Regions from separate parts of the Homo sapiens genome. Here region 1 is linked to region 2. The links are contacts of gene promoters, found by promoter capture Hi-C in human tissues and cell types (Jung and others, 2019). All regions are on one chromosome and are shown on one strand. Each heading gives the region's core, a stretch centred on a gene start or on the middle of the fragment in contact. The rest is flanking DNA. Distances are from core to core; before and after follow the strand shown. Region 1 holds the start of OR1L4 (olfactory receptor family 1 subfamily L member 4). Region 2 holds the start of OR1K1 (olfactory receptor family 1 subfamily K member 1).

The links. Contacts are between HindIII fragments. The study calls those that stand out against the background at their distance.
Region 1: the fragment with the promoter of OR1L4 here is called in contact with the fragment with the promoter of OR1K1 in region 2 in 3 of the 25 tissues and cell types used here (heart right ventricle, liver and mesendoderm cells).

The regions. Positions count from the first base shown.
Region 1 is chr9:122,721,140-122,726,576 of GRCh38, forward strand. It overlaps OR1L4 (olfactory receptor family 1 subfamily L member 4), which reads left to right and starts at 2,851. Exons shown (of 1, transcript NM_001005235.1): 1 at 2,851-3,786. The coding sequence starts at 2,851. The coding sequence ends at 3,786. The HindIII fragment of the contact is 15,967 bases long and covers 1-5,437 here.
Region 2 is chr9:122,796,682-122,802,033 of GRCh38, forward strand. OR1K1 (olfactory receptor family 1 subfamily K member 1) reads left to right here and starts at 3,442. Exons shown (of 1, transcript NM_080859.1): 1 at 3,442-4,392. The coding sequence starts at 3,442. The coding sequence ends at 4,392. The HindIII fragment of the contact is 19,122 bases long and covers 1-5,352 here.

The DNA of each region.
Region 1 (5,437 bases), core at 1,601-4,100, 76 kb before region 2:
ATCTGATGAGTGCAATACACACAAAAACATCCATTGTAACAGTCTGTGGGGGATAGTATGGCTCCAATACAATATATAGTGTGCATATAGATCTATGGAGAGAAAAAGTTGGCTGGGGGATGAAATTGTTCAGAACTTTCACCCTTTTAATTATAAAATTCATGTAAAAAATCACGTGTTCATTATTTTTAAATACAAGCAATATAATCTTACCACACCAAAAAAATGATAACTATGTGAGAGAGCACATATGTTAAATAGCTCAATTTAGCCATTCCACAATGTATACATATTTCAAAACATCATGTTGTGCACTATAGATATATACAACTTTTGTCCATTAAATAAATAAATATATATGTAATATAAAGTTAAATGTGGAAGTTACTTCTCACACCAACCCACTTCAAGAGGCAGCCATATACACATAAACACACACACCAAAGTAAACACAATATATAAGAGTTATTTTTTGTTACAAAAATAGGATTATTCTATATGCATTGTTCTGCAACTTACTTTTGTCACTTAGTAAAACATCAAACAGTGGTATAATAGTGATGGCATCACTTGGCAATAAATGGCTCCAGCTCTGCCATCAGACTGCCTGAATTCAAATTTCAGCTCTACCACTTACTCATGGCGGGATCTGGTAAGTTACTCAACTTGGCTAAACTCTAACTTTTAATCTATAAAATTGGAATATAGTGCCTATCACTTAGGATTTGGGGAGAATACAGTGATTTTTAAAAACAGACAAAGCACCTAGCTCAGTATGTGGCATGTACTGAGTGCTAATAATTGTTGGCTAACATGAACCATCTTATTTCTTTAGAGAGTGCATGCTATTGAGTAACAGGAACTGCACCATAAATTGTTTAGTCTTTCACCTACATGTGCATATTGAGATTGTTCCCTCTATGGGTTGCTTTGTTTATTTGGTTGGTTTGGTTGGTATTACAAGCAACACATACTGTGTACTACACAAATATGACTACTTCTAAAGGATAGAGTGCTATAAGTAGAATCATTGGATAAAGAGATGCAGATTTCCAACTCTTGACAGAGATGGCCAAAAGGCCTACACTGATTCACACTTTCAGCATATGTGAAGGTCTATTTTCCTTTGGATATGATCCCCAAAAATGTAGTGCCAATCTGATAACTTATTTTTATTTGTGAGTTACAAAGAAGTTTAGGCTTATTTTTTCCCAAATGTTCCAGTTGTCATAAATAGCATTTATTTTATAGCCCATTCTTTTTCCATTGCTATGAAATAAATCTTTATTATATGTTAAGTTTAATATAGATCATGATCTAAATATAGGCATATAGATATACAAAATGCTTTATATTGGTCAGTTTTTTATTTTTCCCTATGTGTGTCATTATCTTATTGATTATCAATATACTGTGCTTTTATGTGGGGTTAAAAAAGTTTCCCATCATTATTCTAATGTTTCCAAAATAATGTTGTCTGTCTCTAGCCATGTAATACTCTAGATGAATTTTAGAATAATCTTTTCAACTTCCATTAAAAATTCCCTTCAGGTCTTATTAGAAGTACACTGAATTTTATTAATAAGGATTCATATTTTAAAATATAGTCTTCCTTTTCAGGAGTATAGTTCTCCACATATTCAGATATTCATTTTGTGTTCTATTATAGTTTCTTCTGATAGGTCTTACTCATTCTTTTATTTTGTCCCTCAGGTTAATTTCTAAGTATCACTTAGACTTTCTTGCCATTATCAATTGAAACCTTTTCTTCATTACATTTGTCTAATACAGAAAGATAATTAATACTTTTAGTTTTATAGCGCATCTGGCCACTGGTGAAATTGCCATAGGTTTTAAAAGATTTTCAAATAATTATCTTGAATTTTTTGGTACACAATCGTGCCACAAAAAAATGACATTTTCTTCTTTTTTAATGTTTATGCCTCCTGATGCTTTAGTTTTGCTTTGTTACTCACTCAGTCAACCATCTCAGCAATGTAGCTTAATATTGGTCATAGGGCTATCTTTGCCTTCTCTTTCCATGATATTGGTGGAAATAGGACTCTTACAGTCTATGTTTTATAGTCCTGCAATATTTGAATGTTGAGAATGAGGACTTCATAGTGTTTTAACCAGAAAAATTAATATATTCAAAGAACTAATCTTGCTTACATAGGCTATTTCTGGGAGTACTCTAATTTTAACTGGTATCCTTGGGCCAAAAGATGATAAAGCATCAGATCATATTAGCCAAAGAGAAATGCTTAAATAAACATTAGAAATGTTTTTCTGAAGATGAAAGAAAGTATTATCTGAATTCTGCAATTACCAAGGAGCCTTGATTAATTCTGTTGCTTAGTTTTGTTCTATCCCAACTACTACTACCATCTATGGACCTATGAGCAAGAGAGAATGCTGAAAGAGATAACTTCATTCATAGGGATTCCTTGTATGACAGCATTCTAATTCTAAGTAGAATCCAGCAACCTCTTCCCCGGGACAAAAAAGACAATAATAAGACTAAGGAGATGGTCAAGAAACAACCTCAGAATAATCTTTACAAAAGGAAATGAGAAGAACTCAAACAAATTAGGCCACATAGAAGTTCCTATGAGCACATGGAAAACCTTTAGTTTCTAATTTAGAAGACAGCTTGGCATCCTTTAACTTTTCTTTTGTTGAATTTTACTATCTGTTTCTATGTAGTTTCAGAATTAAATGTTCTTTCGAAGTATAATAGCAGTAAGATTTTTAAAATAGATTTGAGGTGGGGAAGAAGCTGTCTTGGTCAAACTGTCCTTTACATCTCTCCCATTGCTTCTCTAAACCCTATCCAGGAAGTCCAGAGACATGGAGACAAAGAATTATAGCAGCAGCACCTCAGGCTTCATCCTCCTGGGCCTCTCTTCCAACCCTAAGCTGCAGAAACCTCTCTTTGCCATCTTCCTCATCATGTACCTACTCACTGCGGTGGGGAATGTGCTCATCATCCTGGCCATCTACTCTGACCCCAGGCTCCACACCCCTATGTACTTTTTTCTCAGCAACTTGTCTTTCATGGATATCTGCTTCACAACAGTCATAGTGCCTAAGATGCTGGTGAATTTTCTATCAGAGACAAAGATTATCTCTTATGTGGGCTGCCTGATCCAGATGTACTTCTTCATGGCATTTGGGAACACTGACAGCTACCTGCTGGCCTCTATGGCCATCGACCGGCTGGTGGCCATCTGCAACCCCTTACACTATGATGTGGTTATGAAACCATGGCATTGCCTACTCATGCTATTGGGTTCTTGCAGCATCTCCCACCTACATTCCCTGTTCCGCGTGCTACTTATGTCTCGCTTGTCTTTCTGTGCCTCTCACATCATTAAGCACTTTTTCTGTGACACCCAGCCTGTGCTAAAGCTCTCCTGCTCTGACACATCCTCCAGCCAGATGGTGGTGATGACTGAGACCTTAGCTGTCATTGTGACCCCCTTCCTGTGTACCATCTTCTCCTACCTGCAAATCATCGTCACTGTGCTCAGAATCCCCTCTGCAGCCGGGAAGTGGAAGGCCTTCTCTACCTGTGGCTCCCACCTCACTGTAGTGGTCCTGTTCTATGGGAGTGTCATCTATGTCTATTTTAGGCCTCTGTCCATGTACTCAGTGATGAAGGGCCGGGTAGCCACAGTTATGTACACAGTAGTGACACCCATGCTGAACCCTTTCATCTACAGCCTGAGGAACAAAGATATGAAAAGGGGTTTGAAGAAATTAAGACACAGAATTTACTCATAGAAAGAACAAAATGTTGGCATGTCAAAATCAGGACATGACCTAAAAGATTATTATCAGTTTATCCTCCCTTCCTAACCCTTTTCCACATGGCATTCAAAGAGGTCATGAAAAGTGGTGTTGGATATCAGTAAGAGAATTAACCTGGGAGCAAAACACTCAGTTTCTTTATATATATATATATATATATGTATACACACACACACATATATATATACACACATACTTTAAGTTCTGGGATACATGTGCAGAACGTGCAGGTTCATTACATAGGTATACACGTGCCATGGTGGTTTGCTGCACCCATCAACCTGTCATCTACATTAGGTATTTCTCCTAATGCAATCCTTCTCCTAGCTCCCCACCCCCTGGCAGGCCCCAGTGTGTGATGTTCCCCTCCCTTTGTCCGTGTGTTCTCATTGTTCAACTCCCACTTATGAGTGAGAACATGTGGTGTTTGGTTTTCTGTTCTTGAGTTAGTTTGCTGAGAATGATGGCTTCCAGGTTCATCCATGTCCCTGCAAAGCACATGAACTCATCCTTTTTTTAATGGCTGGATAGTATTACATGGTGTATATGTGCCAGATTTTCTTTATCCAGTCTATCATTGATGGGCATTTGGGTTGGTTCCAAGTCTTTGCTATTGTGAATAGTGCCACAATAAACATACGTGTGCATGTGTCTTTATAGCAGAATGACTTATAATCCTTTGGGTATATACCCAGTAATGGGATTGCTGGGTCAAATGGTATTTCTGGTTCTAGATCCCTGAGGAATCGCCACACTGTCTTCCACAATGGTTGAACTAATTTACATCCCCATCAACAGTGTAAAAGCCTTCCTATTTCCCCACATCCTCTCCAGCATCTGTTGTTTCCTGACTTGTTAATGATCCCCATTCTAACTGGCATGAGATGGTATCTCAATGTGGTTTTGATTTGCATTTCTCTAATGACCAGTGATGATGAGCTTTTCTTCATATGTTGCTGGCCGCATAAATGTCTTCTTTTGAGAAGTGTCCATTCATATCCTTCGCCCACTTTTTGATGCGGTTGTTTTTTTTCTTGTAAATTTGTTTAAGATCCTTATAGATTCTGGATATTAGCCCTTTGTCAGATGGATAGATTGCAAAAATTTTTTCCCGTTTTGGGCCAGGCACTGTGGCTTACACCTGTAATCCCAGCACTTTGGGAGGCTGAGGCGGGCAGATCATGAGGTCAGGAGATCAAGTCCATCCTGGCTAACACAGTGAAACCCCATCTCTACTAAAAATACAAAAACAAAAATTAGCCGGGCATGGTGGTGTGCACCTGTAGTCCCAGCTACTCGGGAGGCTGAGGCAGGAGAATTGCTTGAACTTGGGAGGCAGACATTGCAGTGAGCCGAGATCGTGCCACTGCACTCCAGCTTGGGCAACAGAGCGAGACACCATCACAAAAAAAAAAATTCTCCCATTCTGTAGGTTGCCTGTTCACTCTGATGATAGTTTCTTTTGCTGTGCAAAAGCTCTTTAGTTTAATTAGATCCCATTTGTCAATTTTGGCTTTTGTTGCCACTGCTTTTGAAAAACACTCAGATTCTATCCATGACTTTGACCAAATACATATTTAATCTCAGGCTAGGTACTGATAGGAATCCATATTTTAGGAAAACC
Region 2 (5,352 bases), core at 2,192-4,691:
GGTGCAGCAAACCGCCGTGGCACATATATACCTGCGTAACAAACCTGCACATTCTGCACATATATCCCAGAACTTAAAGTAAAATTTTTTAAAAAAAGAAACATTCCTTGTTAAAAAAAACACTCTCATAGGTCCAGCCACCCACACAGACACAGATGCAGCTGCACACTGAGACACACATCCAAGCTCATGGACAAATGGAGTTGCACAGAGACACAATCACTCCCACAAACACAGCTCTACAAATTGAGATTGTTGATAATAGTTGTGATTGCCACAGTCACCAGGGGCACAATTCCTCCCATACTCCACACATCCTACAAGAAGCCACCATGAGGTGACAGTGACAGGTGAGCTGAGAGGAGGGTTGGCTCCAGAAGCTACAGCTGTAAACCCTGGGATCCCCAGGTCACTCTACTTGGGGCTCAGAGGTCAGCCTGACCCTTCTCTCTTATCTTCACAAGGCAGGGGCTGAGGAGCAGCAGCTTTGCAGTACACAGGGCTCCTGAATGTCCCGAGTTGGAGGTGGCACCAGTCACCTCCTCCATCAAACTGGTCCCTAGAGAGGAAGGATAACAAGCCCCACAGCCAGGCTGCCTTGTGCCCCAGGGATGAAGGCCACAAGAAGAGGTTGTTGCCTCTGGGGAAAAGCTAAGGTGCTCTCAGGGCTGTAAACCCCATAAGCATGGCCAATCATTCCTTCCTCAGACCCTCCAGTGTCAAGCCACTCCTGGGCCCTGCTGCTGTTCCTATGATGTGCAGAACCCAGAGGGTACACCTGGGGACAAGGGGCCAGGCTGCAGAGTGTGCAGATCTGTCTTCCTGTGTGTGACTGTGTGCATGAGTCATATGTGTGAGTATAAGAGTATGTGCTGTTTGCGAGGCTGTGATTATTACCAGCACTGCACAATCGTTTCATTGTAGGGGGTAGGAGGCAGTGTGTATGTGCATATGCCCCTCTAGCATGGCACATCTCTGCCATGATCCACCATGAACCTACGTGAGTGCAGCCGTGTATGTGAAGGTGTGAGGCTGTGTGCAAAGATGTGATTGTATGATCACTGAGGGGATTGGGTGTGGCTGGGCATGCATGGATGGGCACTGGGCAGAGTGCTCACACACAGTAAGCAGTCAATGAGAACATGAATGTGCATGATGGGTCACAGCAGCTGTGCATGGCGCTATGTCTCCATCAAGAGGAGTATGTGAATGATTGTCACCCTCTGGCCTTAGTGCCATTTTGTGATTGCATTTGGCCATGTGTGTATGTGTATGACGATCTTGGCTTCTGAATCCTGAGGTAATGGTTGTCTGCCTACTTTGCTGTGAATGCATGTGCTGGCTCCACATTTCTGTATATGACTGATTGTGCCTATGTATTTGCAGAGACCAGCTTGAGGATGCACATGTCTGCGTGCCTGCATGTGCGTTTCCAACTACATTTGAATGTTTCTACAAACATCTTTGTATATTTGAACGCTTCTTGGGACCAATTTAGACACAGGTCAGAGCAGGTCCATTTTCCAAAAGCAATTCTATAAACAGGTTTCCCCTTCCATCCTACCCAATCATCCTGATCCTCTTCCCCTCCAGGAAAGTGAGAAAGAATTAGGGGCTTAAGAAAAGATGCTTTAGAGGAAGCTAACGCCAGAGATTCTTCTTAACCAATGGAGGAAAAAAGGAATACGATAGGGTAGGGAGGTCCTTCATTGATTTTTTTTTAATAGAGAAAGATGTGGAAATAAATTAAAAGATCATTTCCCTGTAAAGGTGGTTTCAGCACAGTCTTCAGCAAACCTGTGCCCTAAAATTCCTCTCAGTTACTTCAATTCTCTTCTTACAGAATTGCCCAAGATTTCTGCAATGAAATTCAGACAGGAAAAAAACTGAGACATTGAAAACAAGTTGCCTCTCTCCTTAAGAGTCAAGTCGCTATGCCTGGGCAGATGTGTCCATCTGTCCACAGGAGTTTCTCACCCTGTGATGTGCATCTGCTTGGTGCTCAGTAAGTGTTTGATTTCATGGGGAAAGTTTTCAGGGATATGAGGAGTCATTCAGATTCTCTTGTTCTTTTTTTGTGTGTGTGTGAGATGGAGTCTCACTGTGCCACCCAGGCTGGAGTGCAGTGGCACGATCTTGGCTCACTGCAACCTCTGCCTCCTGGGTTCAAGATATTCTCCTGCCCCAGCCTCCCAAGTAGCTGGGATTACAGGCACGTGACACCACACCTGGCTAATTTTTGTATTTTTTTTTTTAGTAGAGATGGGGTTTCACCACATTGGCCAGGCTGGTCTCAAACTCCTGACCTCAGGTGATCCTCCTACCTTGGCCTCCCAAAGTGCTGGGATTACAGGCACGAGCCACTGCACCCGGCCTTGTTTTGTGTTTTAAGTCTGAAAATATCTGTATTCTTTACTCACACTTGAGTAGTATTTTTGCTGAGTGAAGAATTCCAAGTTCGAAATGCTTTTTTTCAGAATTTGAATATTGTTAAACTGTTCTATAATCTACTGTTGAATTGAAACATTTGATGGCAATCTAATTACATGGATATCATCAGTTCATTGCACCCCATGCCCTTAGGAAGTACTGGAGTCTCCTCTTCATTTCCAGTGTTCTAAAATTCCACTATTTGTGTCTAGGTGTTGTGAGTTCATATTCATTTCAATGTAAACATATGTGCTCTTCAGATTTTTTTTCTAGAGTTTCTTTCTTATGTTTCTCTCCTCCATCTTGGTTTGGTTTCATTTTTTCTTTTCCAAAATAAATGTCCATTGGCCAGATCTTTCTGTGTCGAACCTCACTCTGTTTCATCTTTTCTTTCATATTTTCCTCCTTCCCTGATCTACATCTTGTGCAATATCTTTTGTTCTATTTTTGCTTAAATCACAAACTATCAAAGTTGGACGTGACCTTGCAGATGAGTTACTTCAATTCTCTTATTTCGCAGGTTGAAAGTCTAAGGCCCCACAAGGTCAGGAGATCGAGAACATCCTGGCTAACACGGTGAAACCCCGTCTCTACTAAAAAATACAAAAAAAATTAGCCGGGCGTGATGGCGGGCGCCTGTAGTCCCAGCTACTCGGGAGGCTGAGGCAGGAGAATGGCGTGAACCCAGGAGGTGGAGCTTGCAGTGAGCTGAGATCGTGCCACTGCACTCCAGCCTGGGCGACAGAGCAAGACTCCATCTCAAAAAAAAAAAAAAAAAAAGAAAAGAAAATCTAAGGCCCAGAAAGGAAGAAGGTTCAGGGAGGTGAAATGACTTGCCCATAGTCATACCTGTGCCTAGGGCCAGGGCTACCTGACTCTAAACTCTTGATATTTTCCCATGGCCAGGAAGCCTTGAACAATTTATCCCCTCACCTTTTCCGTTAGACATCGGGGAGGTGACCCATCAATAGAAAGGAGCCCTTCAGGTTCCAGGCGAATAACCAGCCTGCCATGGAGGCTGCCAATGAGTCTTCAGAGGGAATCTCATTCGTTTTATTGGGACTGACAACAAGTCCTGGACAGCAGCGGCCTCTCTTTGTGCTGTTCTTGCTCTTGTATGTGGCCAGCCTCCTGGGTAATGGACTCATTGTGGCTGCCATCCAGGCCAGTCCAGCCCTTCATGCACCCATGTACTTCCTGCTGGCCCACCTGTCCTTTGCTGACCTCTGCTTCGCCTCCGTCACTGTGCCCAAGATGTTGGCCAACTTGTTGGCCCATGACCACTCCATCTCGCTGGCTGGCTGCCTGACCCAAATGTACTTCTTCTTTGCCCTGGGGGTAACTGATAGCTGTCTTCTGGCGGCCATGGCCTATGACTGCTACGTGGCCATCCGGCACCCCCTCCCCTATGCCACGAGGATGTCCCGGGCCATGTGCGCAGCCCTGGTGGGAATGGCATGGCTGGTGTCCCACGTCCACTCCCTCCTGTATATCCTGCTCATGGCTCGCTTGTCCTTCTGTGCTTCCCACCAAGTGCCCCACTTCTTCTGTGACCACCAGCCTCTCTTAAGGCTCTCGTGCTCTGACACCCACCACATCCAGCTGCTCATCTTCACCGAGGGCGCCGCAGTGGTGGTCACTCCCTTCCTGCTCATCCTCGCCTCCTATGGGGCCATCGCAGCTGCCGTGCTCCAGCTGCCCTCAGCCTCTGGGAGGCTCCGGGCTGTGTCCACCTGTGGCTCCCACCTGGCTGTGGTGAGCCTCTTCTATGGGACAGTCATTGCAGTCTACTTCCAGGCCACATCCCGACGCGAGGCAGAGTGGGGCCGTGTGGCCACTGTCATGTACACTGTAGTCACCCCCATGCTGAACCCCATCATCTACAGCCTCTGGAATCGCGATGTACAGGGGGCACTCCGAGCCCTTCTCATTGGGCGAAGGATCTCAGCTAGTGACTCCTGAGGGCAGGACCCCACTGAGGACAGACTGCATCACCCACACTGGCAACTGTTGAACGTGACCCTCTGTCCTCTGCTATGCTCAAAAATCATAACAGCTGTCATTTCCTGAGCACCTGCCCGGAAGCAGATCCTTGCCTGATCTCATTTTATTCCCACAGCCACCCAGGATGCAGATATTATGATCCGGTTTTACACACAAGAAAATTTGTCTTTAGGCTCAAAGATAAGAAGTGACTTTCCAGCCAGGCACAGCGGCTCACGCCTGTAATCCCAGCACTTTGAGAAGCCGAGGTGGTGGATCACCTGAGGTCGAGAGTTCAAGATCAGCCTGGCCAACATGGCGAAACCCTGTCTCTATTACAAATACCAAAATTAGCCAAGCATGGCGGCGCACAACTGTAATCCCATCTACTCGGGAGACTGAGGCAAGAGAATCACTTGAACCCAAAAGATGAAGATTGAAGTGAGCTAAGATTGTGCCACTGAGCTCCAGCCTGGGCAACAGAGCAAGACTCCATCTCAAAAAAAAAAGAAGTGACTTTCTCAAATTCACACAGTTCTTAGAAAGCAAAACCTGCACCCCTTCTGCCACATCATGCTCTTCTGATGATCACTCTTAGGCATTTAGAATGCATTCCACCATTTCCTACAGACCGAGGGCAATCCAGGAGGGTGTGACATCCGCAGAACATGCCTTGTGTGGATGAGCACTTTCTCTTCAGTCATATGGCCATGTGTTCTCAAATAAATTGACTTCTCAACTGGGACTGGAATAGAGAAATTCACACACTCATGTGTGAAGGGCCAGCCCCTCCTAATGAGCTCAGTGTGGCACACAGGAGGCCCTCTGCACATCTAATATGAATAAATGACTCTGTGTTCATACTAACATGCATTTAGAAGAAGTCCGTTCTTCTAATTCTTTGTTCTTTCCCTTGTTTGCTATCATGGCACCTGTTCT